Linked DNA regions of Homo sapiens: region 2 is linked to region 1. The links are contacts of gene promoters, found by promoter capture Hi-C in blood cells and fetal thymus (Javierre and others, 2016). All regions are on one chromosome and are shown on one strand. The core of a region is centred on a gene start or on the middle of the fragment in contact, and the rest is flanking DNA. Distances in the headings are between cores, read along the strand shown.

Region 1 (5,552 bases), core at 2,361-4,860:
ACAGAGGATGTTTAGGGCAGTGACACTAATTTGTATTATACTATAATGGTGAATATATGTTCAGTATATATTTGGCAAAACCCATAAAATGTGCAACACCAAGAATGAATCCTAATATGACCTATGTACTGTAGGTGATAATGATATGTACATGTAGTTTCATTGAATGTAAAAAAAGAAATGTACTGCTCTGATGAGGAATGTTGATAGGGAGACTGAGTATGGGGAGAAGGTAGAGTTATATGGGAACTCTCTATTTTCTGTTCAATTTTGCCATAAACCTAAATGTTTTCTAAAAAAAAAAAAGTCTATTAAAAATGTCATGGGTCATTAAAAACTCCACCATGAGACTGCAAGTATCTATTCATTTCTTGCCAGCTAGATTTGAGAGTACAGCCAGCAATGAAAACATGAATTTACATTAAGTCAAAGGATAAAGTATCATTTTAAAACCAGCTGCCATTACTCACATTATTTATTTATAGGCTATTGTATAATTGTAGAATTGTGCTGAATAAAGACAAATATATTCTCTTTATTGAAGAACTTACAATCCAAAGATCAAATGAAAATTTAGAAACAATCTTATTTGCTCAGGAGCATCAAACTAAGCATTCTAATAGAAGAAGTTAATTCCAAAAGACTTCTTTATAGTCTTTTGGTGCTCAGGAACATCAAACTAAGCATTCTAATAGAAGTTAATTCCAAAAGACTTTTTATCCAATATTTATAGTTCTTGCACCTATTTACATATTGAGAAAAAACCATGCTGTCCTCACTTTTGTCTAAGTATTGGCCTGTATGGCTTCTTTTTAATTGGCAAATTATAATGGCTATATATTTAACGAATCTAACAATATTAAACAAATGGCATTCAATTACACTCCAAACACTAAATTGCTTTAATTTGGGAAGAAGAATTCCTGGAGTCTCGCTGAACAGTTATCAGTCATTCAGAATTGCTCGCCTTAATATAAAAAGTTCTGTACTTAAAAAATTCAGAAACAGCAGCATTATACAATTGGAGAGTTCACTTATTTTTCTTCTGGACATTTAAATTTGTCTTATGTGTTCCTATAACTAGTTCTTGATTGCTTTCGTTTCGCTCTTTTTTTTTTTTTTTTTCTTTTCTTTTTTTGTTTGTTTGTTTGTTTTTTCCTGTTTGGGCTAGGTAAGTAGTTTCCCCTAATGTAATTTAAAGCTTAATATAGATTATACTCACTTTCCTCTTGAAGATTTTCTTGTGGCTTTCTCATTACAGAAGACTGTTCCACACTCTGGAGCCATAGAATATTATGAGTACACCGAAACTTTTGGACCAGCACTCTCCCTTACCACTTTCCCTTCTAACAGTACTGAGCCACTTCAAAGTTGCCCCAAAGCACCAGAGTTTTATTACTCTCTGGAGTTGCGCATACTCCTTTTTCCACCTGCAATGTTCTATCCTCCCTCTGCTTGGCTTACTTCCTTGTCAGCTTTGAAAACAGGAGTCTGTGTGTCCCCTTCACCCGGAAACTCATCTTCCGGGCTTCAAAAGGCTTAAACACCCCATCTGCTTCAACCCAGGAGCTTACTCAGATACCATATATATTTTAAATGATGTTTCTGATTCATGTTGCCATACTGTAAATTATTATTTTTAAAAGATGCCCCCTTTGAGTGAGTAGGATTTGTGTCTGACTAGATGCTAAGTTTTATTCATCTTTGTGTTCCCATCTCCGCACACATTGCCTGCCCCATAACCATTGCTTAAGAAATAATGAGTTTAATGAAACGATGCATATTACTCTATCCCTGACAGAGAGTGATGTTTTACCTATAATCTAAAATATAGTTGTCTACTGTTTAAAAATCAAAGTTTATCCTTGAGAATTTAGCATCCTAACCATGCATCCCTCTCCCACCCGACCCCTGCCCTCAGCCCCGGATCCCTTTTAACTTAAATAAGAAGCTGTTTTATTCTGGCAGTTTTTGCCAGAAGAAAAGTGAGTCTAACAGAAGTCAATCTAACAGAAATGCATTAATGCAGGCTGGATTTGCCTAGACATCAATAAACTCGAAAGGCTCCCTGTGGGCCACTTGTAGTGTCAATAAACGTTCGTAATTACTTGCTCCTTGGAGCATTTTTATACCCGACCCCGTTCGCTGTGCTGCAAAGAGGAAATTCAAGATCTCGGAAGTTCTTAACTTCTTAAACTCTAGAGGAAGTATGGTAAACACTGGCGGGAACCTTGGGTTTTTAAGCAAAGATGCTGGCTGTTTTCGTTGCTATTTTAAGCTGTCAGGCGACAAGCAACTCAGAATTCCCCTTCTTACTTCCGGCGGGAGGGAAGATTGGAATTGGGCCTCATCATTTCTGAGCGTGAAAAACCGCTGAAGCTACTGTTCAACCTGAAGGAACACGGAATTCAACTGGAGAGAAACCCTGGCGACCAGGGAGCTGGGGACCGGCGCATATAGATGAGGGAAATCCTGGCTTCCAGACACTGTCTCATGCTAGAGGTGCCTCCCGACCTACCAGCCAACAGTAAAGACCGGAACCAAGGCGTGGTACTAGCAGAGTAGCAAGCATCTCTCCCAATGAGGGCAACGACTGGAGGATGGTGGAGAGGTACTCAGAGTGAACAATCGAACACAGAACTCTTGAAAAGTGTCCCTGCCACCCAATACAAGTACGAAAAATGGTGGGACGGAGGAGAGGTGACAATCAGAGGCTATATATATAATTGAGACTTTTAGAGAGGACTTTGCTCTTCCTTCCTCCCCTCCCTTTTCTTTCCTTTCTTTCTTTCCTTCCTTCCTTGGTATCCGAATGTGTGTGGGTGTACTTGCGTTTAAAAGAGAGGTCCATGGTAGCTGCTTTTTTTTCAGAACTCTGTTTCTCCGCAATGAAGTTTAAGTGGGATTGGAGTTTCCTTGACTTCTGCGTGAGGAGTTTCCAAATGGCAATGAAAGGGAGGCGCATAAATATCCATAAAGTTCCTAATGACACCTCTATCATCACTTGTTTCCTGCAGAATCCTGAGCCAGGGTCGTCGTCCACCACCCATGCAGAGTGGGCCCATCGGCTAACAGGTTCATGTGTGTATTTGCACTTTCCAGATTGAGTAATAAAAGTCTTCTTCCTTCCACCGCCGTCCCCACCCCCGCACCCCGTTTCACTCCACCTTGGAGGGCGTGTTTTTGCGTGTGAGGGTGTGTGTTTAGCAAAAGCGATTGAAAGAAGGTACTCTTCTTGCAATCCACCCCTAGCTCTACCTGAAGCATTCCTCTGGCGGGACGCTTTTGTAATCTGTCCCCAGGCGAGGTGCCCTCTCACCTAGATGCGGATAGACTATCTTGGAGCTCCCAGGTCCAGAGAGCTGATGCTTTGATGTCCCAGGAGAGTGTGTGTGATTCTGCGTGTACGTGTGTGTGCATATGTATGTATGTGTGTATGTATGTATATGTGTATGTGCGCGAGCTCGCAGGCGCGTAGCACTGTGAGCTTCCTCTCCCGGCACAGAGCAGGCAGAGCCGGGGACGTTACTCTCCAAGCAGCCTCCGCCCCCTCAGCCTGGTGATTGGCTTTGCGCAGCGTTTATCTCCTAGCAAGAGGGAAGGGCCAGTGACGCCCCCGAACCCAGCTGCAGAAGCTGCCGCCACCTCCAATGCACAAGGTGTCTCATCTGAAAAGAAACCTGAGCCCCAGGGAGGCGGCGCGGAGCGACCCTGGCAGAGCTGGCGCAAACAGGGCGAGAGGTCGCTGGGCAGCGTTCGAGGACCAGAGGGAGCTCGGCCACAGAAGACCCCAGTGATCTGATCCCGGGATCCCGGCTCCAAGCTCTCCTCGCATTTTACAGATTTCACCCCCGCGACTATCTCCCCAAAACGGAGCCTTTATATCAAGAGAAGGTGCGGGAGCTGGGGCAACCAGGACTTTCTCGGGCACCCAAGATGCGCTCCATTAGGAAGAGGTGGACGATCTGCACAATAAGTCTGCTCCTGATCTTTTATAAGACAAAAGAAATAGCAAGAACTGAGGAGCACCAGGAGACGCAACTCATCGGGTAAATGCAAAGCTTCATTTCAGGATATGACAAAAAGTCAAGCCATAAATGAAATGTGAATATAGAGGGTAGAGTGATGGTTAGGATAGCATGTGTGTTTGTTTGAGCTTGCGCGTGGTTAGTGTCATGAATTAAATAACAAAGGCTGTTGTTGAGATGTGCGTGCTTCTCTAAGCTGTTCCCAGTATGAGTTCAACTTGCTCTGTGTGGTTGTGGTGACAGTTGTGTTGGCCCTGGGTGCTCTCTCGCCAAAGGAGAAGTCACTGCAGAAGTGTCAACAAAGAACGTGTGTCCTTGTCCTTTTAATCTGTGGGCAGAACTCAAGAGAAATGTCTTTATTCACCAAACGGTTGCCTGTTTTCAATGTCCTATCACCTAAGGAGATACTGGAGATAGATGGTTTCTCGAAGGGCTGAAGTTAAAGCTTAGAAAGCAGGAAATAGGTATACTCTGTTTCTCTACTTTTTTTTTTTCTATTTGACGTTGGATAGATTAATGTGTTATAATTTGAATTAGAAACTCCAGTACCACTAAGGATACTTCCTTATTTGTTCTTCTACGGCTAAAACGCATGGGCGTCATGGTTACAGTTTTAGAAAGAAACTGGGTACTGTAGCTTCACACAGACTATATTTCTGCTATTTTTTTTAGTTTGTCTAGATGAGTTCAGACTCTCCCCCGCCCCACTAAGTTCTCTAAATATCACACTTCCTTCCACCCGCTGGCCTCTGTGTCTTTGAAGTTTACCCAGGAGGTGGTGCAACTTTGTGTTGCTGACATAGCTTGGAAGGCTTTTTCTGAGGATGTGAACCTGATTGTCAACTCTATTCAAAGTCCTGTTTCGGAAATCCTCCCTGTTCCGGTTTGGAGGCGTCCTCTATCAGAAACTACACACCAGCAGAGATGCCTGCCCAGTTTATATTTTTCTCTGACATTGATTAAAACAAAGAAAACAGCCCTTGCGTGTGTGTGTATGTGTGTGTGAGAGAGAGAGAGATGGGACTGCTAACACACACACATGCTCTTAAACTTCCTGCACTCCATTTCTTAATATTCCTGCTCCCTAGGTAATAAGCATTTATTTAAGCGAGCAAGATGCAGGTTGATCCTTACAGAAGGACTTGCTATTCTGTAGAAAACCAGGAAAACAGTAGCACAGTCAAAGCGGACTGGAAGAGAATGAAAAAGCTAGCAAGGAATGGGCTGGAATGGTCGTCATGCATCAACGAATCTATACATGGTCTATTCTGAGGGGGTAAAAAAGACCGGTATGAGGTCGTTTACACAAGACTGGGTGGCTTGAAAATCCAATCTAGCTCAGTTGTTAGAAAAGCAGGACTTTGGGCAGGGGCGTGGGCATCCCTTGCAGACCTGTGCTTGCCAGGCAGACAAAGGGGTCTTTAGAAAGGTGATGAATGGGCGCATGGGGCTCCGATGAGAGGCAGAGGCTAGAGCTTGAGGGTCGAGGCTCTTTGTTCCCTCCCGGGCCGTGGGCTAGGAGGA
Region 2 (5,465 bases), core at 315-2,814, 2.4 Mb before region 1:
TTCAGAGTGGCTATTTAAGAAGAGACCACTAATGGAAAAGCACTTGGAAAAAAAACATCAATTTTTAAAAATTCTTTCAAAATAGTGAAAATATTTTGTAACCACTAATCTCAAAGACCACTAAAAACAAGTAAAAGATGAACCAAAACATCTCTGGAGGAATACTAACTGAACACTAAGCAGAAATAAAATGGCTTAACTGTCAAAGTACAACACAACAATGAAAACAAAATGTTTAGCTGCACCTAGATGCTCATCTTAGAGGCTTCTTTCAAATATTCTTACTTTACCATTTGCAACTTGCAAAAAGTAAGTCATCAATACTCTTTAAGAAGAGTTAACTAGGGTGTGACTTTTCTGAAACCATCCTTGACCTTACAAACAAACCATTAACCTTGCCAACTTTGTAAGATAACCCATAATTCGTTCAGTAAGACAAAAATGTGTTTCTCTTTCTAGTATCAGTTCTTTTAATAGCAATCCACCCCCTTAAAGTGCAGCACTCATTATCTTTCCATTTCTGCTAGTAAAAATTAAACCTAGGTTACTAATATCTTCTTATCACGTGGTGTCATCCTTCTACTTTTAGAAAAATACTCAGTTTCACTGCAAATATGACCGACAGTAAGTGGAACTAAAGGTCAACATGCAGCCTTTACAAGAAATTTGTCTCTTAGGAAGTATCATCAAAATGGAACAGGTGTACACTGTGGAATTGGCTAATCTTTGGGAAGGCTTAAAACCAGGTACTCATTTTGATAGGCTGGTGACAAAATCAAAGTTCTCTCTGGAGGAAAGGAGCTGATCCCCCACCTCACCCCCAGCTACAAATCAGCAAAGAAATTTTAAACCCTGTACATAAAGCTTTATTACTCTAACCATATTAAGTACTTTTGAGTTAATTTTATAATAGCTCTCTAAAATACACAGAAATATACAAAGAAAATAAGCAAATTCATTGACTGTTATATAATATCAATAAATATATCTTATACACTGAAATAATTACTAACACTTTCATTTGCAATTAAATAAACTGTTAGCAAAAGCATATTCTATACATCAATTATTATCAAATTAACAGGTCTCTGTATTCATTAACTCTTATATTCCATCCTGTTCATTTTACTTTTCAGTTTATAATGCATTCACAGTTACATAATTAAAACACTGAGGATTCTGTGACACATTCATTAAACTTAATAGTGTAATCATAAATCGCGGCCAAAAGCTTCTGCCGTAATAACCAATACTATATTTTGAAATGACTGGGAAAATAAACTTTGCAAAAGGGTCATTTCTACCTCTATAGTGTCAATCCAGCATTACAGGATTTGAGAAAATAAAACAACTAACAACCCTAAATTGTAGGTTGGCTCTTCGGAAAAAAAAAAAAAAGGAAAATGAGTCTAGTAACATCAGAAATATGCAAGAATTGTTCTTTCAGCTAGGAGCGGCAAGCACACTGTAAAATGCCTCCATTCTTCCTGCTCAAATAAAAAGTTCCCAGCTCCAGCTTTACCTGTGCACCACACACACACAAACACACACACACACACACACACACACGGAAATCTTGGTTCCACCCAAATCAGTAACCCACTGGGTTGAAAACTGAGGTGGAAGGAGAGGCAGGGAGTCCCTAAGCGTGTGGAACACTAGCAAGGGGAAAAGGACGGGGCCATCATTCCCTTCGCGTTCCCATCTCCTTTCTGGCGGAGACCTGCAGATTCCACCACTAGAGAGAGTTTGGCAGCTTCACAATGGGGCCGCGTTGCTGGAGGTCTGACTGCCACCCGCCTCGAAACCCCTCTCCTCCGCTTCCCACCTGCCCCAAAGTCCACCCGCGACAGGTGGGGCGAGGGTGGCAATGCCCGACATCTGCCGCTTAAGCTTCTGGCTCGGACCGGGCCCCAATCCACACGCGCACACACGGCCACAGCCGGCCAGTCCACCCCCACTGCACCGGCAGACACTCGGAGGGCGCGGGCGGCCTCGCACGCGGGTTGCAACCAGGACGAGGAGGGTCGGCGAGATCAGACCGCCGGGGCTCGCCCTGAGGTGCTATCTGACCCGGGCAGTCGCACCCTGAGCGCGGCCGGGCACGCAGCCAAAGGTGCCGCCGGCCGGGGAAAGCTACTTCTCAAAGGGGCCTCCAGGCCCGCTGCCCCGCGGTGCGGGAACAGCGGCCAAGGGAGGGAGCGAGCGAGCGTGCGCGCCAACGCGCCCCGACTTCCGCACCGCGGCACCGCGGGAGAGGCGCTCCGGGTCGCCGAGTCCCCGCACCTCCCCAGCGAGCGCACGACGCGCGCACACGGGGGCGCACGCCCCCGCACACTCACACGCGCTGCACACTCACGGCGTCTGCGGCCCCACCCCTGTGCCAGGGAACCGCAAGCTCCCCGCACCCCGCGCGGGCCCCACCCAGTTTACCAGACCCCAGTCCCCTTCGGGTGCCTGGGAACCGGTCCACCAAGGCCAAGGGACGCTGGGGCCGCCCCGCCGCCCATCGCAGAAGCTGGTCCGGCCGGGTTTCCCCAGCACCGCGGGCATCGTGCGCCCGGCCCAGACACGAGGCGGAGAGGAAGGGGCGGCGCCGCGATTAGGGCTGGCACTGGGGATCGGAGCCTGGGGCAAACCCACTCCCCCAAGCCCCCCATAACCACCACCTTTTCTGCAGCACAAAAGGTTACAGACGGAGCCGTCGTCCCCGTGCAACCTACCGATGGCCCAGGGCTCCGCTGCCTCCGCCGTGCCCGGGGCTGCGGAGCGGGAGACAGGGGCGGGAGAGGCGCAGGACTGCGGCGCCGAGATCCAGGCAGAGGCCGCCAGCCGAGCCAGCCGGGTACCCTCTCCTCTCCCACCGCGCTCGGCGCCAGCTACCGCCCTGCTTAGTCCCCGCCCCCTCCTCCGCCTCCTCCTCCGCCTCCTCCTCCGCCCGCCTTCCCGCCTCCTCCCTCTGGCTGCAGAGGCGCAGCCCGTCAGCGCTGAGCCCGCCTCCTGCGCCCAGCTCTCAGACACCCGGAGGAAGGGCGGGCCGGCTGGCTGCAGAAAGGCGCTAAGAGGCCAGAAGAAGTTGGCGGGGGTGGGCGGGGTTGTTGACTGGTGGTGGGGAGGAGGAGTCGCAACACCCGCTCTCTAGTCTAAACCCAGCACTCCAACTAAAGAGCTCCAACTTGCGGACCTGGGAACACTCCGGCTTCCTCAGTTAAGTGGTGTGCTGATATTTGTCACTTGTGAGTCTCTGCTTAAAGGGCTCAGCACTAAGCAAAAGTACAGAAAACTAGAAGGCCATGAAATTAAAAATTATAGGATCAGTCTACGAAAACTCGTAATACCCAGTGAAGGTGGCGGGGTGGGGCGGGGGGGGGAGTTCAAATTCAGATTCTGATTGGATTAACTATTTTTTAATTTGCACAAATGTTGATCTTGTCTATTATTGTAATAAATTATTTTCTTTGATGAAGATTTGCTTCTCTCAATTCATGTACATTTCTGCCGAACTGGTTAAGCTCAGCAATAAGAATATTTACTGGCATGCATATCCAAATTTACATCTCTCAATAACCATTCTGTGAGGAAGTAACCAATTATGATCCACATTTTAAAAATGCAGAAAGTTTAGGTCATATGCCTACTGAGTGGCTAAGGCTGAATGTGTACGCAGTCGGTGAACCCCAAAATTGTTTATAAGTGTTATAAATTTCGGTACCAGTGTCCAATCAAGAGAGTTTTATTTTTTAAAAGACAAAATGCTTTATCTTAACATAAAAGACATAAATCTGGAGTAGATTAATATAAGTTTAAACGAGTCTTGATTCACACTTGTTCCAGAATCTACATATGTTCCTGATAATATAAAGGCAAAAAATATATAAACACCTCTAGTCCAACAGAACCACTCCCGGAGGCCGCTCAGCTATAAGCCATTTTATGCTACTGCTTATGTGCCCTAAAATAAGTAAAGGAAGGTAGAGGGAAGAATAAGTTTTAAGGAATGTTCCCTAAACAATTTTACAAAACATCAGTTACTTTTTTTCCCGACATAGATTTGCATGTAATTTCAAAAATATAGAAGCTAGCACAACATAATATGAATAAATAAATGAAGAAACTTTTTTTGCATCAGTACATTAGGAGAATACACCGAGAATTATTTCCGATTATAATCTGTTTGACACAATAGTGTATTGTCCTGATGATCATTCTCATAAAACCACCTCCAAAACATTGTATATTTTATATTAAGAGACTTAATTTCATTTCTTCCTGTCTGAAATCTTATAACTTTTTCAGAAGAATGTCTTGTACTTGCCCTTTGCGCTGAGAGTTTGGCAGTGTGCTTTGGCCAAAAGCAATAAAGTTCCCCTCTTAGTTTATTAGGCTCAAGGCTAGCTCTCTTGAGGGCATTGTCTCCAAATTGCCTCCCTCCCTGGGTGGTGTTCTATGCTCCCATCCTAACCCTGAATCTTCACCCAATCAGAACCTAAGTCAGTTCTTGAGTGTCACAAAGAACACCTAATAAACCAATTCACCATGCAGTAATGGTTGATAATAGCTTTATGTGTGGCTCCATCAAGGATATGTTTATGCCACCTAGAGATACTGACTGGGTATTGTCTTCACTCGGATTGGATGTGGGTTGCAAGTGCCGTGGCTGAGGGGCATATAAGAGGTGCAAGTTAATGCAGAATCCCTTCCCAGAGCTTTTTAGTGTTTTAGGAAGATCTCTTCAACCTATAAAGAAAAATGGCATTCATATAAAGGGTTAGGCCCAAATGTAGAATAGACCCAGAGCCCTGAAAGGCCTTCTGAATTTGGGGACTCAGAAGCTCCATCTCACACACTCCTTGTGTAAGTTATGTCTTTGCCTCAAGGCATCCTTTCCAGAAAATCCCTTTAAAATGACTTTAAAATGTCAGCTGCCTGGGAAATATTATACTACGTTGATGTAAATGATGTCGGCTAGCAAACAACCAGCTTGAGAGAACAGAATAGGTGAATTTGATAACAACATAATGATGTAAAACAGAATCTACAAAGACAGGTGTGCAAGAAATACCACATTACCTTCTTTTCTATAAACTCATTTGTTTCAAGCAGGGTCTAACCAGGAAAACAGAAACCATTTTGAGTATCTACAGAAGTAATTGAATGCAAGAAATTGGTAACGTAGGTGATAGGAAAAGTCAGAAGCTAATCAGGAGATGGCACAGTAATCCAGAAACTAGCAACTGCGACCTCTAGCTGGAGAAATAAGAGAAGAGGCAGGGTTATTGGAGTCCAGGGCCCAGGCAGCATGGCCAGCCTGGTGAGAGCTGCGGCCATAGAGGAGAAACAACCACTGCCAAAGAAGCAATCTAGGGAGGGAGAAGGGGGAAATGTACTATACGTTCTCCTCTCCTGCCCTCCAATCTCCTTCCAGTGCCTTGCATTGGCCAAGTCTGATACACCTGCCATGGGAG

The links. The method cuts DNA at HindIII sites, captures the fragments that hold promoters and counts their contacts. A CHiCAGO score of 5 or more calls a contact.
Region 2: a contact is called between a fragment that was not itself captured here and the fragment with the promoter of ST8SIA4 in region 1, in 1 of 17 cell types (non-activated CD4 T cells). The highest score is 5.0, in non-activated CD4 T cells.

Annotation. Positions count from the first base shown.
Region 1 is chr5:100,901,340-100,906,891 of GRCh38, reverse strand. It overlaps ST8SIA4 (ST8 alpha-N-acetyl-neuraminide alpha-2,8-sialyltransferase 4), which reads left to right and starts at 3,610. Exons shown (of 5, transcript NM_005668.6): 1 at 3,610-4,049. The coding sequence starts at 3,937. It overlaps LOC107986437 (a long non-coding RNA gene), which reads right to left and starts at 3,484. Exons shown (of 2, transcript XR_001742825.3): 1 at 1,223-3,484. RefSeq lists enhancers at 2,208-2,447, 3,228-3,467, 3,953-4,522. The HindIII fragment of the contact is 2,860 bases long and covers 1,204-4,063 here.
Region 2 is chr5:103,256,155-103,261,619 of GRCh38, reverse strand. MACIR (macrophage immunometabolism regulator) reads right to left here and starts at 2,857. Exons shown (of 3, transcript NM_033211.4): 1 at 2,724-2,857. RefSeq lists silencers at 2,097-2,476, 2,687-3,196. The HindIII fragment of the contact is 662 bases long and covers 1,234-1,895 here.